7 separate regions of the Homo sapiens genome follow, and regions 1, 2, 3, 4, 5 and 6 are each linked to region 7. Evidence: promoter capture Hi-C in 16 types of primary human blood cells and fetal thymus (Javierre and others, 2016). All regions are on one chromosome and are shown on one strand. Each heading gives the region's core, a stretch centred on a gene start or on the middle of the fragment in contact. The rest is flanking DNA. Distances are from core to core; before and after follow the strand shown. Region 1 holds the start of COL10A1 (collagen type X alpha 1 chain). Region 2 overlaps NT5DC1 (5'-nucleotidase domain containing 1). Region 3 overlaps NT5DC1 (5'-nucleotidase domain containing 1). Region 4 has its middle 12 kb from the start of TSPYL1. Region 5 overlaps NT5DC1 (5'-nucleotidase domain containing 1). Region 6 overlaps NT5DC1 (5'-nucleotidase domain containing 1). Region 7 holds the start of RWDD1 (RWD domain containing 1).

Region 1 (2,700 bases), core at 110-2,609, 440 kb before region 7:
TAATACTTGAGAAAACTCAAGTATTTAAATCTTTAAAGTTTCTTTCCAAGCAAGTTAACATGGAAGTCCACCAGTAAGCGTACGCTTACCTGCGTGCTGGGAGTTCCTGGAGATGGTGCCTTGGCAGCTTTCTGAAGCTTCCTCTGCCCAGATGAGCAGTGCAGAAGGTGCCTCTCAAGAGCTGTTCAGTGGTATTTATACTGTTTTTCCCTTACTACATGAGGTTACCCTGAGCTTAAGCTCCTCCCCTCAAAGTTGGTAAGCACTAATTATGGTGGAAAGTTCTATTGGGTAGGCACACAAGATCGGGCTGGGCTCTCCTTTTCCTTGTTTTCTTATTTAAAAATAAACCCATTGTCTTAAATATATATTAATAGTTTTAACCAAGGACCGTCTTTGTCTGTGATTCTATTTTATTAATTAATACTCTAGTGTTCAGGCTGGTTCACGGTGGAATGATGATACCCCCTTTTTATTTTTGAAAAGCACATTCTTATGTTAATTGGTTGATATTATATAATATGTGGTAGTACATAAAAGCGGATAAAATTCCTTGAAGGGGGTACTGGATTTAGACCATCATCTAAATTATTGAGTTATTACATAAAGTTATCAATGTGTCTATTAATATTCATAAATTTTTGTGAAAATAGCTGACCCCAATTCTTAATTACTTTTAGGCTTTTAGGATTTAGATCCCTTATTCACAACACTACGCTATATTCAGTAAATGACTTCAGATTTTCTTGCTTAAATTTGGGTTTACTTTAGAGTTGCAGTAGAGTTTGCAAAAACCCCTTAATTTGATAATCTCATATTATGTTAATTTACATAAGATTGCTGTGTTTATTTCAGGAGAAAAAAATTTTCAAACTTTGCTTTCAGCTTAAAAAAAATATTATTGGCTTAACTTGCAGTTAGGAATCATCCCAATTAGAAACACTTTCCCTCAAAGGTGGAAGTAAACACTATTGTTGTCAATTTTGGTAGTTAGACTCTGTTTAACAATATTAGGAAGCCTTTAAAATCAGTTTTTAGGATCCTAAAAAATCTAATAAAGGTGGGAAGTTGAGAGTCCAAATTTTTCATCTTATTTAATTTCATCGTTTTGAATCAAAATCAAATTGACTATGCAGGTGAACTGGTTGAGGAGGACAATTCCATACACAGGCATAGACACATCATTTTTCTACCTCCACAGAATTAAAGTAGTATGGATTCAGGACTAATCAATAATTGAAATAATTGAAAGTTTGACCAGTGAATGAACTAAAGATTTGTCCTTTTTCTTTTCCCTTTCTCTCCCCTTCAAGCAATTTTCTGTATTTTAAACAAAGCCTTGTATAGCCCTTTATGGAAATGTAAATGGATAAGGCATCTCATTGCCTCTCTCCTCTTGCTTGTAAGCATTTTGTTGATTGCCATATTAAAAAAATTTACATTGTTGTATATATCTCTGTATAATACTCATAGATACATATAAAATATGTTTCTTATAGCAGTTTAGAATAACAAAATAGGAAAGTTTATAATTCATCATTTGGAAATTATATATGGAATAGCTTTTGTAATTATAATATGTACTCTGCTACATCTGTAGGAGACTACAAAAGATAAGTGAGAGAAAACACCTGCCTTTTGGCTTATGGCCCATTTGGACACAATTTTGAAAAAGTAGGTGAGGTAACTTTATGGATGCTTTTGAATGCTAGGTTGAATTTGTTTTGAAAGGAATTATTAAAATATATATTTTAATATTTTGTGTGTATATATGGTGATACACATGCACACACATACTGCTATTTGCTTATAATTGAGACTGATACCCTGTTAGTTATCACTCGTGAACGTTCAGAAGACTAATTCTCAGCTCTTAATACATAGTGCTATGCCCCTGTGTATACCATTTGTTCATCTGTGGCTATTGCAACAATTTTCAGAGCCTTTCACTTTAACCTCTCTGGGTGTCTGTTTTTTATCAACACAATGAAAAGTTTGGACTAGGTGGTTTCTAAGCTCCTCCCAGTTTTAAAATTAGATTATTCCTGTGCTTGAGGTATTCTGCTGTTCTCCATGGTCAGATGGTAGACTTGGCTCCAGTTAGTACTTATTAGAGACACAAAAAAATCCATACCAGGAGGTTGTATGTCTTCTTTTAGGGATATGTAAATATATGTGGGTATTTGTCATTCTATACTCCCCTTTAGTTTTGGAAAATGTGGTGTCCTTATTGAATAAGCCTTGGACATTCAACCCTTTTTGCAAATAGTGTACTTATTTCAGCACAAGGAATCTGACTGCTGTTTGCTTTGTTAGTCACATAAGAAGCACTGTCTTGTCCAAAACAGATTGTAGAATCAGAATATTTTCTAGCCACACCCCACCCAATTGTGTATTTAAAACTATTTTTACTCTGGGTGTTTACTTGTAGCTGTTTGAAGTGACTAGTCTGTGGCTTTATGAAGGAAACCCATTCCACTCAAAACAGAGAGCCATACTCTTTAAACTCTATAACCTGAGTAATTTTTTTAAATATCAAATATGAATAATGATTTTTTTCACATCTGGCAGTTAGCTACTATTAAGCTTGCCTATTCATTTGTACATCTGTGGATCGTTAATTAATTCACCTTATGTTTCTTAAGTGCTTCTTAAGTGTTAGACATTAAGATAAATACTGGGTGAATAATATATATTCTA
Region 2 (2,700 bases), core at 67-2,566, 370 kb before region 7:
AATGAGCCAGCCGTTTAACATTTATAAGCCCTAAAGAAGTACTCATATGTATACATGGACTCAGATACAATGTTGTTTACTCCAGAATTTATAATGAAAAAAATCACCAAAGTACTGTTGTATTCATATGCTGGATTGCAATGTTGTGGTTAAAAAGAATGAAGCGTTTCTAGAATGTAAGGTCTATGAGAGAAAAAACTTTGTCCATGTTTTCAACAAGTAGAACAATGAATAGTGTGTAGTAGGTGCTCAGTAATTATTTGTTATAATTACATGGCTAGATTTAAGTACGTGGCTAGATTTTGAAGTCATTTTTTTGGGTGAGGAAAGCAAATTGCACAAAATGTGTACTAGAAAATACATGTATATGTGTGTGTAAGTCCATAACACCTTATTGGAAAGATACACACCAAAATGTGAACTACATATGTGTGTATGCAAGTCCGTAGAAATTTATCTGAAAAGTATACAGTGCAGAAGTGTCCAAGCAAATAATACATTCATGGGTTCTTAGTTTCTGTTTCTGGTTAGGCCGGTAAAACCCCTTCCTCATCCCTCTTTTCTGCTTATCATTACAGACAGAAACTAAAAACCATGTCTTCAGGCTGCTAAAAGCCTAAAACAAAACAAAATAGAACAACAACAAAATAAGCTGGGCTGGACAAGCTTGGTGTGACACTAAAATGACAACAATGATACTAGGGACCAGAAACTGAGAGTACTATTTAGAGAAGACTTCAGACTTTTTTTTTATGTTTCAAAATTTAGAACATATATTTGGAAATTTGGAAGTGTTCACATATCTTACTTGAGTAATTACGAGATAATTTTAAAATAACATTTAACCTTAGAAAGATAATTTCCCTGTTATCTGGTAGGTTGGAACTTAACTGAGTCAGCAGCTTCTCCCTCTGGAGCCCCACAGTCTCTACACAGATATACAGAGCATCTGATCTTGCTAGACCTAGTCTTCCCAAAGGAAATTCCTTAAATATGTGGAATAAATTGGGGGGGAAAAAAGGCTGTTCAGATATTTTATACATTTCTTTAAGAATAAACCAGCTGTTTGTGTAGTTTCCGTCTTTATTCTGATTTTGTATTAAAAGGGTACATTTTAAATTTTTCACTAATTGTATTTACATCTTTACAACAAGGCTGTAATATGTCTTAATAAAGGGGATAAAACAATAAGATTAGTAGATATGACAGTAAGGAATGTGTAATGAAAAAATCAAAGAGACCAAGATTTTCATTCCATCCTGCTGTTTTCCTCATTATGTCATGATGATAGGCAAGTCAGCCTCTCTAGGCCTCATTTTCATATCTGCACAATGAGATTAGGTTTTGTGGTCCCCAAGGTTCTAATAGCTACCCCAAGTTTCTCTGCTCAGTCCTTTGAGAATGATCTAATAGACCATTGGACCATCTAGCCCAGTGTTTTTTCCTGGAAGTAACAAAAAGTAGAACCACCCTGCCTCCTGCTCAGTAGGACTTTTAGGGTTTTTTCATAGCATATGTTTCAAAATATGTTTTGAAGGTAAGTAGCATTTTGATAAGGGAAATCTTGCATTTTGGGCCCATGCAGGGCAATTCCATGATGCAGTGTGGCCCATAGCATTTCGTGGTTAATCAACTGCCTGTACTTAGGCCAGAGGAACTTGTTAAAGTAAAAATAGCTCTAACACAAAATTTTTACTATGTGTAAAGCATTGTGCTAAATGTTTCACATATATCATTGCATATAATTCACACAATTACCTAATGGGGTGAGTGTTATAACTGTGATCATTTTATAGATAAGCCAACAGTCTCTCAATGACTAAAGCACTTACCCAAGGAAATTGCACAACTAAGACTTGACTCAAGACTGTCTGATTTGGGTCCATACCACCCAGGAACACTGGAGACCATATCCTGTAATATACTTTTATCTGTGTGTCTACTCTGGTACAGAACTTTGTGCTCTGAAGCTTTTCAGTAGAAATGGAATAGCAACTCTCCTTACATCAACAGCAACAGCTGTTTCTTAATGAAGTCACCTGCAAATTATGAATTTCTTTCTGCCATCCCTCCTACCCTGCTCCATAATGATTTAATTTGCTGGCATGAGACATTTAGATAAAGTTCCTTTTGATGTTTTAAATGGATTTTATATCTGGAGGGCAAAACATTTTCTTTGCCATAGTTTTTAGATAAACTGTTAATTGGTCGAAGTCTAGTGCAGTTTCCTCTTTACTCACATTTTTCTTCATTGAATACACATAGGGCATTTAGTGTTTATTGCTAACATTTGCCAAATAATTGTGTGCAAAATATTTGTCTCATTTAAATTGGATTTTAAATGTTTTCTTCTTGTTTATTGAGTAATTCTAGAATTTAAAGTTCTCTGGATTTATATTGACATCTTTCCTTTTAAAAATAAATAGTCTGATCACTTATGTCATATGCTTTCTTAACAAACTTTTTCCTAGGTCAAAAGAATGTAATTTTTTATTAGAAAATAGTTTCATTATTACAATATTGTTTTATTCAGATCCTCTGGGAGCTGATATCTCTGCATTAATAACTATACCTATTCCCTGCCTACAGCAGATTTCTTCCACTTTATTCTGAAAGATTGAAGGTATGCACTCAATAAATGGATCATATGTCTTAAGAAATCATGGGAAAAAATATTTCTGTACCTGCATTTCCTTTTAA
Region 3 (2,700 bases), core at 114-2,613, 350 kb before region 7:
ACTGTCGTGGTTTGGTCCAGAGCGACAGTACTGGAAATGGAGAGAGGTAGATACATTTAAATACATTATGGAGTTGGAAAACACAGAGGGCTCGGTGATACTTAAAGAAACAGCAGACAAAAAGAAAGGAGTAATAAAAAATAACTTCCAGGTGGTTGATTTTTCTTTTTCCTCAAATGAGCAAGTGAGTAGATGGTGGTACCATTTACAGACTTGGGGAAAAATACAGAGGATAAAGTTGTGTGGAGTAGGGGTTATATCTGTTAAGAACTCATTTTTCAACATGTTAATTTTGAGATGCCTATGAGTTATGTAACTGTCACTATCAATTAGGAAATTGTATAAATATGCCTGGAGTCCAAGGGAACAAGTCTAGGCTCAAGATATGTATTGGGAGTAATCAGCTCATAGATAGGTATTTGAAGCCAGGGGATTATATGAAACCAAATATTGAGAGAATGTAGATAGGCAAAAGGCCTGGACCAAGCCCTGACATTCTCTAATATTAAAGATAGAGAAGAAAGAGTGCAGTGTGGCAGCAGATAGATTATAGTAGGGAAAACAGTAGAATACGTGTTCAGAAGCCAGAGGAAAGAGGAAAGGGTAGCCAGCTAGTCCAAATGCTACAGAAAAAGTCCACTGAAATGAGGAAGGAGAAATCTTCCCTGGGGTGGACAAGATGGAGATCACTAGTGCCTCAGTGAACAGTTGCCATAGAGTGGTGGGATAGAAACTAAATTGCAGTATCTTGAGTAGTTCATTGGAGGTATGGAACCAGGGTATATGTGCAGCTCTTTCTAGAATTTTAGCTCTAAAGGCAGTCAAAGAATTGAGGTTTTAGCTAGAAGACAGTGTAGGATTAAGGGCATATTTTATTTTTTTAAGATCGAAGATACTGGAATATGTATATGTGCTGATGAGAATGATCTGCTGCAGTGGTTTTCAACGGTGGCAGTTTTGCCCTTCAGTGCAAATTTGGCAATGTCTGGAGACGTTTTTGGTTGTCGCAACTTTGGAGGGGGGTGGAGGCTGGGTGTGCTGCTAAGCAGCCTACAGCACACAGGACAGCACCCCCCAACGACGAAGAATTATCTAGCCCCAAATCTCAGTAGTGCCAAGGCTAAGAAACCCTAGTCTAGTACAAAGAAATAGGTTGATGTTGTTTTTATATATTGGTTTAAAGTCTTATATAATAAAATCCTTGATATTAAGAAATAATCTGTTATCAAGAATTCTAATAATATTCTTATAATTAAACCAGAAAAAAATTTAAATGTTTTTCCCTACTTTACAAACTTACATTTAAATATATAAGTAAGTACCCAATAAATATTTGTTTTTATTTTTATTTTTGTGGGGTTTGCATATTTTGTTCCAAGAAAATCTATACCCCTTTTATACCCATAGTAGTATTTATGCCATTCCATAAGATTTTTATTAAAATTTCACACAAAGATACAATTAATGGAAAACTGCACGTTAAAAATATACCAAGTTTTTTTTAACATGTTGGAAATTATAAATGCATTAAATATGCTGACAATTTACAGCATTTTATGTAGTTTTTCTCTATTTAATTGAGAGTATCCTGAGAAAAAGGGTGGAGTTTTTAAAAAACGATTACTTTAGAAGTACCTATCTTAAGACTTCTGTGCAGTATTTTCTGTTAGTTGTATAGTACAATTGGATTTGAGGGCTGACATAATAATGATGTTTATCCAAACTATATATTTTTAAATATTATACTCATCAAAAGACTTGAAAGTCTTTTTGATTGAATTTATGGTATGGAAATATTAGGAATCTAAACTTTAAAAATAAGCACATCCTGATAATAAATATACCATTTTAAAAAATTGTTTTACATTTTGGGTTGTATAAACACTTAGTTTTTTAATTTCTACTTTCTCTAATTTGTATTTCATTTATTTTTTAATTGACAAGTAAAAATTATATATTTATGTTGTACAACATGGTATTTTGATATATATATAGATTGTAGAATGGCTAAATGATACTATTTAAATAGGTATTACCTCACATTATCATTTTTTGTGTGTGTGGTAAGAACACTTAAAATCTATTCTCTTAGTAAATTTCAAATATACAATATATTATTTTTAACTCTGCATTTTGTACAATATATTTCTTGGATTTATGGATTTATTCCTCCTACCTGAAATTTTGTGTCCTTTGACCAACATCTCCTAATACCCCTACCCCTAGCCTCACATAACCACCATTTTACTTTCTGATTCTATGAGTTTGGCTTTTTTACATTCCAAATGTAAGTGAGATCATATGGTATTTGTCTTTCTGTGCCTGGCTTATTTTGCTTAACATTGTGTCCTCCAGGTTCATCCATGTTGTCACAAATGACAGGATTTCTTTCTTGTTAAGGTCAAATAGTATTCCATTATGTATATATACCATATTTTCTTTATCCTTTAATCTGCTAATGGACATTTCGGTTGATTTCATATCTTTTGTGAATAATGCTGTAATGAACATGGGAGTGCAGATAGCTCAACATACCAATTTCATACATTTTGCATATATACTCAGTATTGGAGTTGCTGGATCATATGGTAGTTCTGTTTTTAATTATTTTGAAGAACCTCCACACTTTTTTCCGTAATGGCTAAACTAATTTACAATCCCACCAAGAATGTACAAGGATTCCCTTTTCTCCACATGCTC
Region 4 (2,700 bases), core at 77-2,576, 280 kb before region 7:
GACTAATAAGTAATGGAGTATGGATATAAACCCAGTTTATTGGCTTCAAAGCTCTTTGTACTATGCCATGTTGCTTTTCTGATTTCTTGAAATCTTTGACAGTAACCGGGGAACTCAAGGGTTACTGCCACCTATTTTCTAATAACTTCGTTTTCTTGGATCTGTATCATTAGTGCCTAGCACCTAGAAGATTCTTAGGCAGTGTTGGCTGCATTGATTGAATGATTCCACACTGATGGCTAGCTTAAACAGCCATGGAAACTTTAATTATAATATATTAATCTAAACAGGACATATGGTTTTTAGGAGTTAAGTGCCCTCAGGGGAAGCATTTACTAAATGTGGGGCACATTTTAAAAGTAATATCTCCTGCTACTGCTGATATTTCTAAATTAACAGTATTTCTAGATTCTCAGACTTGGGGTTCAGAGATTTCACTTGCTGATTAATTAATTCAAGGATATAAGAGCTCTAGCAAATAAATATTTTATTAATTTGTACTGTTCTACACTCAGGAGCAATTATTGAAAATCAAGGTTTGTTATCAGGAAATACATGAAGTCTTATTTGGAAATAATTCCTTAAAACTCATCCTGAGAAGAGACAATCTGCATCCTTCCCACTTAGTATATCATCTACCCATTTGTGGTCTCTCATAATTGGAAATATTTCCCTAATTCCAAAAGCAGAAAGGAATCCTCTTAACTGCTAACTTCTCTCCCAAAGGGAGAAACTTTTTCCAGCCAACCTCAGTGAAATTGTTGATTGAATGCTGATCCTAGAACTGCATTATGAATGCAAAAAAGTAAACAAAGCACCCATTCTAAGTTTGCTCAATTTTCTGGCCACCACTGTGCTCTGCAATGTCATCTGTAGCACAGAAGATTGGAGGCGTAGACTTGAGACCAGACCACTTCGTCTGTTCTTTCCAAACTCTCTAAATTCAAAACATTTGTTGAGGTTTATGCAGGACACAAGAGTTGTGGGATGGCATACAAAAATCTGAAAGTCATGGACTTTGTTCATTAGGGACCACAGTGTTGTGGAGAAGATAGACACAGAAACACATAATTATAATACCAGATGAAACAAACAATTATAATACCAGATGATACCAATAATTATAATACTAGGAGAGTGTTGTTCCAGCAAGAGAGATGTGGACAAAGGGCTTTGGGTGCACAGAATAGGAAATTTGTATTCCTATATTGATAAGAGAGCTTGGTAAGAATTCAGAGGTGATAATTTTGAGATGAGTCCTAATAAGAAAAATAAAATTATAATAAGAGAGAGGGGGTGAAAATTCCAGGTTGACTAAAATACCCTGAACAAAGACTCAAATACAAGTAGAAGTCCAGCCAGCTTGAGGAAATGACTGAAAGATAGGGAGATTAGTTGGGGGTGATGGTTAGGTAAAATGGAATCTGATAGTTAAAGGCTTTTTATTATACATTATTATATGTTTATGATATATTAAATATAATTATATATATACATATTTGTTAATCCTATGGGTATTAGAGGATATTGGAGGCTTTTAAACAGGGGATTGACATGGACAGTGTCAGAAAATAATATTAATTGCCATATGGAAAATGATGTGAAGGTTATATGATTAAAGGCTGGGATATCAGTTGTGAAGTATTATAAAAATGCAGGCAAGGGTAGATGAGGATATCTTTAGGAATGTAGTAACTGACAACAGAATATGTCAGATAAATTGTAGAACCAATTGAAAAACTAGATATGAAAGTAGACAAGAAGTTAAGGAAGACTGATTTGTTTAGTTTGGGTAACAAGGATGGGTGGAAATGTGATTGAGTTATGGAATACAGGAAGAAGATCGGGTTGTAGTGGGAGGAGAGATCAACAGTTCAGCTACAGACAAGGAGAGTTTCATGTGACTCTAGGGAGATGTTGGGTATTTGTAGATCAGATAGATTTGGGTATTTGTAGAGCAGGAGAAGAGTGGGGTTTACAGTTAGACTTGGAAATCTTGAGTGTTTAGGTGATAGTTGACATCATCAGAGTGGACGAGAACACCAGGAAGACAAGTAGAGGAAGAAGAAAGGAAGGCCAAAAATAGAGCTCTGAGGAACACTGACGTGAAAGAAACAGATGAGGTGGCACAAGTAGAGGAAACTGAGAAATAGCCATTAGAGGTAGGGAAAGAACCAGAAGAGTGTTGTTTCAGTATGCAAGGGAAGAATGGACTTCAGGAAGCTAAGGTTCAAGGGATGCAGCCATATTGAGTGAGATGAAGACTGGGAAGAAAAGTTTCCGAATTGGGCGGCAGCTATACAGCATGGGTGTCTTTAGTGAGAGCAATTTCAGAAAAGTAGCAAGACAGAAAAATTGCAGAGTTGAAAAAATGAATGATAAATGAACATATAGATAGTGTGTGAGGCCAGTTCTTTCATAATTGTCAGTATAGAAAAGGGGAAAGACTGGATGACAAGTTCAAGGAGATGCAGGGTTGAGGGAAGAATGTTTGTAGGGAGCAGCATTGTTGGGAGCAGAGTAAGGATCTGATTATTACACTGAAGTGTTGAGGAAGCAAACAAACAAAAAAAAAGAAAACAAACTGAATGTCAGTAAGTAGAAGAAAGGTTGGATAAATTATGGCATGTTTATACAACTGAATATTACGTAACCTTTAAAAGGAATAAATTGGATCCAAAGTAGTGACCTGGAAAAGCA
Region 5 (2,700 bases), core at 98-2,597, 380 kb before region 7:
GTTTTATAGATCCTGTGAGATTTATGCTTTAAGGAGGTTCTATTTTGGTGTATTTCAAGGATTTCTTTCAAGATTTAGAGCTTCTTATAGTGGTTCTTGTAGTTCTCTTTTGGTAATGGCAAATTCTCGCAGCATTTGTTTGTCTAAAAAAGACTGTGTCTTCCCTTCATTTATGAAGCTTAGTTTCACTGGATACAAAATTCTTATATGATAATTATTTTGTTTAAGGAGAACAAAGGTAGGACCCCAATGCTGTCTAGCTTGTAGGGTTTCTGCTGAGAAATCTGCTGTTAATCTGATAGGTTTTCCTTTAAAAGTTACCTGATGCTTTTGTCTCATAGCTCTTAAGATTTTTTTTTTTTTTCATCTTCACTTTAGATAACCTGGTGACTGTGTGCCTAGGTGGTGATCTTTTTGCGATGAATTTCCCAGGTGTTCTTCCCAGAGCTGCTTGTATTTGGATGCCTAGATCTCTAGCAAGGCTGGGGAAGTTGTCCTCGATTATTCCCTCAAACATGTTTCCCAGACTTTTAGATTTCTCTTCTTCCTCAGGAACACCAGTTGTTCTTAGGTTTGGTCATTTAACATAATCCCAAACTTATTGGAGGCTTTGTTCATTTTTATTTAATTCTTTTTTCTTTGTCTTTGTTGGATTGAGTTAATTTGAAAGCCTTGTCTTCGAGCTCTGACTTTTTCTTCTACTTGTTCGATTCTGTTGCTGCGAGTTTCCAGTGCATTTTGCATTTCTCTAAGTGTGTCCTTGACTTCCAGAAATTGTGATTGCTTTTTTATTTATGCCATGTATTTCACTGGAGATTTTTTCATTCGTATCCTGTATCATTTTTTTGATTTCTTTAAGTTGGACTTGTGCCTCCTTGATTGACTTAATAGTTGATCTTCTAAATTCTTTTTCTGGCAATTCAGAGATTTAGTCTTAGTTTGGATCCATTGCTGGTGAGCTAGTGTTATCTTTTGGGGGTGTTAACCATGTTTGTCATATTACCAGAATTGTTTTTCTGGTTCCTTCTCATTTGGGTAAACTATGTCAGATGGTAGATCCGGGACTCAAGGGCTACCGTTCAGATTCTTTTGTCCCACAGGGTGCTCCCTTGTTGTGGTGTTCTCCCCTTTCCCCTAGAAATGGCTCCCTGAGAGCCAGACTGCAGTGATGCTATTTCTCCTCTGAATCTAGCCACCCAGCAGAGCTACTGGGCTTTGATCTGGTACTGGGAAGTGTCTGCACAGAGTCCTGTGATGTGATCTGTATTCAGGTCTCTTAGCTGTGGCTACCAGCACCTGCTCCAGGAAAGGTAGCAGGGGAGCGAAGTGGACTCTGTGAGGGTCATTAGTTGTATTTTTGTTAAGTCCAACCAAAATTTTAACAAGTTTCTTTATAGAAAACTGAAGCTCATGCCACAATTTATATGGAAATGAAAAGGGCCATGAAGAGCCAAGACACTCATGAAGAACAGGGCAAGAGGGTCTGTCCTACAAGACACTAGCAAATAATTCATGGCTTATTTTAAAGTTACAGTAATTTGGTCAGAGTGCTTTTGGTATAAAGACTGACAACTAGAAGATCACTGAACCGGAGATGCCAGAAAAGACCTTTGCAGTTGTAGACACATGCTTGATGACAGAACAGGTACAGCAGAGCAGTGGGGAAAGGACTGTCATAAAGGGTGCCTGGAGAGTTGGAAATCTATGTAGAAATTCATAAAACTTGATCCCTACTCACATATTAGACAAAAATCAATTTCACATGGATTATAGAAACAAATATGAAAGGCAAATCAGTAAAGCTATCAGAAGAAAATCTGAGAAAAATAGCTTCATAGCTTAAAGATAATGAAATATTTCTTAAATAGGATAGAAACAGTATTGATTGATTGTAAAGGAAAAGTGAATAAATTTGACAAACATTAAACGTCTCTCTTCATAAAAAATTACTAAGAACGAAAGGGCAAGTTATAGAAGAGAAGATATTTGGAATACATATAATGATAAAAAGACTTTTATCTAGTGTAAAAAAGACCTATAAATCAGTAACAGGAAGACAGCAACCCAGTAGAAAATGAACAAAAGTCTTGACAGGCAGTTTACAAATAGGGAACTCTAAATGGCCAATAAACATGAAAATGTGCTTATGCTTATTAACAGTCATGAGAGTGCTAATTAAAGTTCAATGAGGTACCACTAGATATCCATCAGAATAGTTGGAATTAAAGAATCTAGTGATTTCAGTGGTTGGTGAGGATGTGAAGCAAAGAGAACCCTTAAACTGCTGGTGGGAGTGTAAATTGTTGAGTTGGTTTTGAAAATTGTTGAGTATTATCCTATAAAGTTGAAAGTGAGCATTCCCTATGACACAGCCATATTAGGCTGCAATATATACCATCCAGAATGTTCTTAGTGGCATTCACTATTACACCAAATTAGAGACAGCCCAAATATCCCTCAATAGTGCAGTTGCTATGCAGTGTGTCATACAGTGACATTCTATTCATCAATGAAAATGAAGCTTTATGAACAACATGAATGAATCTTAAAAACAGAAAATGAGAGAGAAAAAGCCAGTAATACAGGATATACATATTCTATGGTTGCATTTATAAAATAGATATTAAAATGGGTTACACTAGAGCATAATTAGGTAGTAAAGCCAGAAAAGTAAGGATGTACCATAGATATGAGGATAGC
Region 6 (2,700 bases), core at 114-2,613, 410 kb before region 7:
GGTGTTTTCTCTGGGATGTCGAAGTTTCCCACTATTATTGTATGGCTTTTTATTTTATTTTCTTAGGTGTAGTAGTACTTTTATAAATCTGGGTGCTCTGGTGTTGGGTAATGTATATATTTAGGATAGTTAAATCTTCTTATTGAGTTGAAGTCTTTATCATGTATCATACCCTTCTTTGTCTTTTTTTACTCTTGTTGGTTTAAAGTCTATTTTATCTGACATAAGAATAGCAACCCCTGGTCTTTTTTGTTCCCCATTTGCATGATATATCTTTCTCCACCCCTTTACTTTGAGCTTGTGTATGTCTTTATACATTATGTGGGTCTCTTTTAGGCAGCAGATGGTTGAATCTTGTTTTTCTTACCCAATTTGCTAATCTATCTCTTTCAAGTATTTATGTTCAAGGTTAATATGCATATGTGAGGTTTTGTTCCTTGCCTAATATTGTTAGCTAGTTGCTTTGTAGCCTCAATTATGTAATTATTTTATAGGATGTGTGAACTTTGTACTTACGTGTGCTTTTGTGGTAGCAAGTATCATCTTTCTGTTTCCTTTTAGCATTTTTGGTGTACTGGTCTAGTGGTGACAAATTTCCTTAGCATTTGTTTGTTTGGGAAATACTTTATTTCTGCTTCATTTATGAAGCTTAGTTTAAAAAGATACACGCTTTGGGAGGCCGAGGCAGGCAGATCATAAGGTCAGGAGATCGAGACCATCCTGGCTAACATGGTGAAACCCCGTCTCTACTAAAAAAATAAATAAATAAAATACAAAAAATTAGCGGACATGGTGGTGGGTGCCTGTGGTCCCAGCTACTCGGGAGGCTGGGGCAGGAGAATGGCGTGAACCTGGGAGGCGGAGCTTGCAGTGAGCTGAGATTGCACCACTGCGCTTCAGTCTAGGCGACAGAGCGAGACTCCGTCTCAGAAAAAAAAAAAAAAAAAAAATTATTGGCTGGCATTATTTTTCTTTAAGAAGTCTAAAACTAGATCCCTGTCTCTTCTGGCTTGTCAGTTTCTGCTAAGAAATCTGCTGTTAGTCTGATAGGATTTCCTTTATAGGTGATTTGATCCTTTTTTCTAGTGGCGTTTAAGATTTTTTCTTTAGCATTGACCTTGGATAGTCTGATAACTATATACCTTGGTGATGTTCACCTTATATCATATCTCACTGGTGTTCTGGATTTCTTCCACATGGATTTCTATATCTCTAACAAGATCAGGGAAATTTTCCTGAATTCTTTCTACCAATATGTTTTCCAAATTGCTTACTTTTTCTTCTTCTTTCTCAGGAATACCTATAAATTATAGATTTGGTGACTTCACATAGTCCTGTATTTTTAAAAGGATTTGTTCATTTTTTAAAATTCTCTTTTCTATTTTTGTCTGACTGGGTTAATTCGAAAAATGCCTCTCCTACATCCACAACAGTGGACTGAGGGAGCAGGAGATGACCCCCCTCTACATCTGTTACCAACCACCAGTACCACCCCATTCAGTGATCAGTTTGTACCTGCATTTCCTTTGTCCCAAGGGGGTTCTTAGTGGGCCGCACTTCCCCCTCTTCTAGGGGCAGCCTGTGCTTAGGGCTGAATGTCTGGAAATCCCACAGCTCCCCAGGGACCTGCTGGTCCCCTGTGGTTGTCAAGTCAGAGCAGGTTCTGGGCTATGTTTGCAGGGTACTGGTGATTGCAACAACTTGGGCTGAGATTCCCCATGCAGGGTAGTAGCCCACAATGAATGCACAACCAGTATGGTGTCTGTCCTCTCAGCTCAGGCTTGAGGGGAGTGAGGGGATACCTGCACAAACTAGCCACTCTGTGCTCTGTCCCCAGGAAGATCCTAAATCCGCACTGACAGCATTGCCTGGGGTCATGAAGGTAGAAAGGCTCCCTGACAATTTGGCAGTCAGCAGCTTATTGCAGGGGTGAAGGGAGAAGAGAAGCACCCCAACCTACCCTTCAGGCGGGATTCAGAGGTTCTCGGGAGTCAATCTCTGCGAGACTCTTGCTGCTTTCCTTTTCTGCAACCCCACATCAACCAGTGGGGTCTCCAACAGATCCTGGCTATCTTCCCTAAGCTTTCCATTCAGATCATGACCATTCATCTATGTCTTTGATCTTCTCTCTGAGGATAACTGACATCCAAAATCCCTAGTCAGCCATCCAGATTCCTCCTAACCAACAATTTTGATACATGGTGGTTGGATATTCAGTTCTAATTAAAAACATAAAGGAATGGATCAACCAATCTTCAACAAAGGTGCTAAGAAATCACAATGGAAGAAGGATTTTGTCTTCTGTAAATGGTATTGGGAATAGTGGATATTTGACTAGTAATTGTGATGAATTGCTAGAGGCTGAGTGTTGGGCCATCAGAGAGTGAGAAACTCCTGGCATCGATCTCCATTTACCCAGTTTCCCAGATATTTCCCTTGAGGTTTTCACTGCTGACATCCTTTTCTACATGCTGATAAAAAACACTCTTAAAACCAAGTCAGTAGTGTATTTCAAAAGTTAATTCAGTTATTTATCTAAATCCATGAGAAATTTCTACTAAAGTTTCAGAGACTTTTCATCTTTTATCTAGTAGTTACTTAAATTATGTAAGAGATAAAAATGGTTCCCTGATGTAAACTTCATCACAGTGGTTTCTATTTAAAGACGAAAGGACTGAAATTCTGAAATGTCTGGAATCT
Region 7 (2,700 bases), core at 154-2,653:
TACTTTATGTATTTTATTTGATTGTCATCATAGTTAGGAGACTCCACTTTTTCATTAAAGTTTAAAAGAACGCCTGAAATCAACCCTTAATACCGTAAACACGGAATCAGTATCAAAGTGTTCCTCTGCTATAGGTAAGCAGCACTCCTCAATAAAAGATCAAGGTGCCTTCTGGTGCTTCAGGGGCTTCATCATTAGGAATCTTTCATTTAAAAAGTGTTCCTCCCACTATACCAGTGAAACCAGCTTTAATACAGAGAAATCAAAACAAAGAAAAATACAGAAAAGTGGGCAACAGCTTTTGAGTATTTTCTTAAAATTTTCCATTTTTCGACTTAGCGCAATAATATAATAAAGGAACATGGGATCCTTTATTATTGTTACCATAGTTTTTAATATCATTTTCATAAAGCTAACCATGTTTATTTAGCCATTTTCTTAGCTTTTGCCATCATGGTTCTTTGAAAATTTTCTTTGTAATTGCTGCAATGATTTTGGAGATCACAGATGCATGCTACTTGCTCAAGTTTATTCTTGGAAGTCGTATTACCAAATTAAAGGTTCTCAACATTTCTCGGGGTACTGCAATTTTTACATTGCATATGATAATTGTTATTACTGAGATCTACATTCCTTTCATCAATTCACAAATACACAATCACAGACATCTTGAGATCTATCATACGTCCAGCTGCGTTCATTTCACAAAATCAGAAGTTAAGCCTAAAGATCTGAACCGAGAAGCCGGACCTCCGGTCTATTTCTCCCTCCTGGATCCACCCCGACTTATTAAGCAGTTAGACCGACCCTTCCATACTCATTCAAGGCAGTGCAGAGCTTTTGCTCCCCTGCCCAGTGGAATCTACACTGGTCCCAGCCTCTCGTCCAACTCCCGTAGGACGCCAAGCAATACGGAGTTCGAGAAGCTCAGAAATCTCCTGAGCCCCACCAGTCCACACTAGGTTGCAAGCCCGCAGCACCTACGCCACGGCGTCAAACCGGAAACCAGAAAAGGTGAAGGCATCGGACGCCCCTCGCCCCAGCCCGGCCACCAGCGACACTATCCTTCACTGACGCGCGATGCCGGCCTTTCAGCCCAGACTCATCGAGCGAGGATGCAGCGCTGAGAGGCTTCTAAGGCTCAGGCCCTGCAAAGCCCAGGAGCCGGCTGTAGGTGTCCTTGGCGAATGCCAGACCGCGCGCACCGTCCCAGCAAGTCCCGAGCGAGTGTGGGACAGGCAGCAAATCAGTGCCCCCTGGCCAGGCAGAACGAGTCGAACGTGGAAGTAGGGAGCAGGCGGAGGCCGGCGCGGAGCTGCAGTTAAGCAAGCCGGGTCTGGCTTTGGGCCCTGGGCCTTCCAGCCGGGGACTCTGCGCCTGCGCCCGCCTGGCCGCCGCCCGCTCTCCCGGCGCGGCAGCTGTCTGGGCTGCTGCGCGCCGCCTAGGTGTCTGGGCGATCTATGGGCAAGAGCAAGGGCCACGATGACAGATTACGGCGAGGAGCAGCGCAACGAGCTGGAGGCCCTGGAGTCCATCTACCCTGACTCCTTCACAGGTGACTCCCGCGGCCGCAAGCCTGTAGCCGCCCCGAGGTGGAGTAGGACGGGCAGGAGCTGCCGCAGCTCTGGGCCTCATAGGTTGGGGTGGAGAAGGGGACCTTGAGGCCGCGCGGCCACCTTGCCCTCCACTCCTCAAGTTCTTCAGTCACTTACCAGCAACCCAGTGACTTTTTCTCCTTCTCTGCTTGTTCCCGGAAATCTAAAAGTCCGGGTGATGTTGGAGGGTGTCAGGCCTGAAAATTGAGTCGGGATTACTTTGGTTTCTGTGTAACCTACAGCAACCTGAGATTTATAATACATTAAGAGAAAAAATACTCCAAGTGCGATTCGTTTTTCCACAGCCGCAAGAATGTTAGTTTTCACATTTTTAGCTTTATTAAGGTAGAAACTGTTTTTCATACGATGCTGTTTTAGTTTATAGGATTCAGAGTGCTGTTTTCAGTTACTCAAATCGGTTTTGAGAGTAGCATAGTCCCTGAAGTCTGTCGGGTTTCTTTTCTTATGAAAAAAAAAAAAATCTGGCATTCAGCAGAATGCCTAATGGATAATGTGGCCCAAATTTCCGTTCTGCTATAAATTCATAGGTTGTTAGATTGGAAGGGAGATTAAACATCATCTATCCTGGGGCTCCTGCTCCAAGCCAAGGTCATGGGGGTTCAGGAAAGCTAAGTGGCTTGCTCTGTACTGTCCGCCAGCGAGTTAGCGGCAGGGCTGGTACTGAGTTATACGTCCAGAACGCTTGCCTGTTCTTTCACTTTCCAGACATATGGGACTTGGGATTCAGCTCCAGCTGAGATTGAGAGAGCAGAAGATTACTTGGTAGGTTGGGCTAATGTAAAATATTATAATGAGAAGTTCATTAGGTATAATTTAGAGGACGAGATTTCTCTATTAAGCCATGCTTCGGATGATTATAAAAATGCTACATAACTATATCAATATGGCTCCTCTGAGATTTGAGAAGCGGTCAAATAAAGCCAATATGAGTGAGTAGAACCTAGGTGTGTGCATTTACATTCCCCATCCTTTCCTTTGAGTGTTGCCTATCGTTGATAGTCAGAATTTATAGTGTAAGGTATATTACTTTAACTTATAAATTCCAACCCCTCTCCCTTTCATTGTTTAGCTTAGTTTTCTTGGC

Evidence for each region. The method cuts DNA at HindIII sites, captures the fragments that hold promoters and counts their contacts. A CHiCAGO score of 5 or more calls a contact.
Region 1: a contact is called between a fragment that was not itself captured here and the fragment with the promoter of RWDD1 in region 7, in 1 of 17 cell types (total B cells). The highest score is 5.4, in total B cells.
Region 2: a fragment that was not itself captured here is called in contact with the fragment with the promoter of RWDD1 in region 7 in 7 of 17 cell types (neutrophils, total B cells, M1 macrophages and 4 more); the score reaches 10.2 in neutrophils.
Region 3: a fragment that was not itself captured here is called in contact with the fragment with the promoter of RWDD1 in region 7 in 14 of 17 cell types (naive B cells, total B cells, fetal thymus and 11 more); the score reaches 19.4 in naive B cells.
Region 4: a fragment that was not itself captured here is called in contact with the fragment with the promoter of RWDD1 in region 7 in 15 of 17 cell types (naive CD8 T cells, total B cells, fetal thymus and 12 more); the score reaches 17.6 in naive CD8 T cells.
Region 5: a fragment that was not itself captured here is called in contact with the fragment with the promoter of RWDD1 in region 7 in 2 of 17 cell types (total B cells and naive B cells); the score reaches 6.9 in total B cells.
Region 6: a fragment that was not itself captured here is called in contact with the fragment with the promoter of RWDD1 in region 7 in 1 of 17 cell types (total B cells); the score reaches 5.1 in total B cells.

The regions. Positions count from the first base shown.
Region 1 is chr6:116,125,964-116,128,663 of GRCh38, forward strand. All of the region lies in intron 6 of NT5DC1 (5'-nucleotidase domain containing 1), which reads left to right. It overlaps COL10A1 (collagen type X alpha 1 chain), which reads right to left and starts at 169. Exons shown (of 3, transcript NM_000493.4): 1 at 90-169. RefSeq lists a silencer at 2,203-2,497. The HindIII fragment of the contact is 2,449 bases long and covers 136-2,584 here.
Region 2 is chr6:116,204,593-116,207,292 of GRCh38, forward strand. The region is part of intron 6 of NT5DC1 (5'-nucleotidase domain containing 1); the gene reads left to right. It also overlaps a transcript of COL10A1 not described here. Among named protein-coding and RNA genes, the nearest start is that of TSPYL4, 48 kb to the right of the region's middle. The HindIII fragment of the contact is 1,304 bases long and covers 665-1,968 here.
Region 3 is chr6:116,224,918-116,227,617 of GRCh38, forward strand. All of the region lies in intron 8 of NT5DC1 (5'-nucleotidase domain containing 1), which reads left to right. Among named protein-coding and RNA genes, the nearest start is that of TSPYL4, 28 kb to the right of the region's middle. The HindIII fragment of the contact is 5,275 bases long and covers 1-2,700 here.
Region 4 is chr6:116,290,107-116,292,806 of GRCh38, forward strand. It overlaps a transcript of DSE not described here. Among named protein-coding and RNA genes, the nearest start is that of TSPYL1, 12 kb to the left of the region's middle. The HindIII fragment of the contact is 6,300 bases long and covers 1-2,700 here.
Region 5 is chr6:116,185,952-116,188,651 of GRCh38, forward strand. All of the region lies in intron 6 of NT5DC1 (5'-nucleotidase domain containing 1), which reads left to right. It also overlaps a transcript of COL10A1 not described here. Among named protein-coding and RNA genes, the nearest start is that of COL10A1, 61 kb to the left of the region's middle. The HindIII fragment of the contact is 2,343 bases long and covers 177-2,519 here.
Region 6 is chr6:116,164,169-116,166,868 of GRCh38, forward strand. All of the region lies in intron 6 of NT5DC1 (5'-nucleotidase domain containing 1), which reads left to right. It also overlaps a transcript of COL10A1 not described here. Among named protein-coding and RNA genes, the nearest start is that of COL10A1, 39 kb to the left of the region's middle. The HindIII fragment of the contact is 1,434 bases long and covers 647-2,080 here.
Region 7 is chr6:116,570,101-116,572,800 of GRCh38, forward strand. RWDD1 (RWD domain containing 1) reads left to right here and starts at 1,404. Exons shown (of 7, transcript NM_015952.4): 1 at 1,404-1,555. The coding sequence starts at 1,483. RefSeq lists enhancers at 799-978, 1,009-1,338, 1,559-1,658 and a silencer at 1,379-1,458. The HindIII fragment of the contact is 4,586 bases long and covers 1-2,700 here.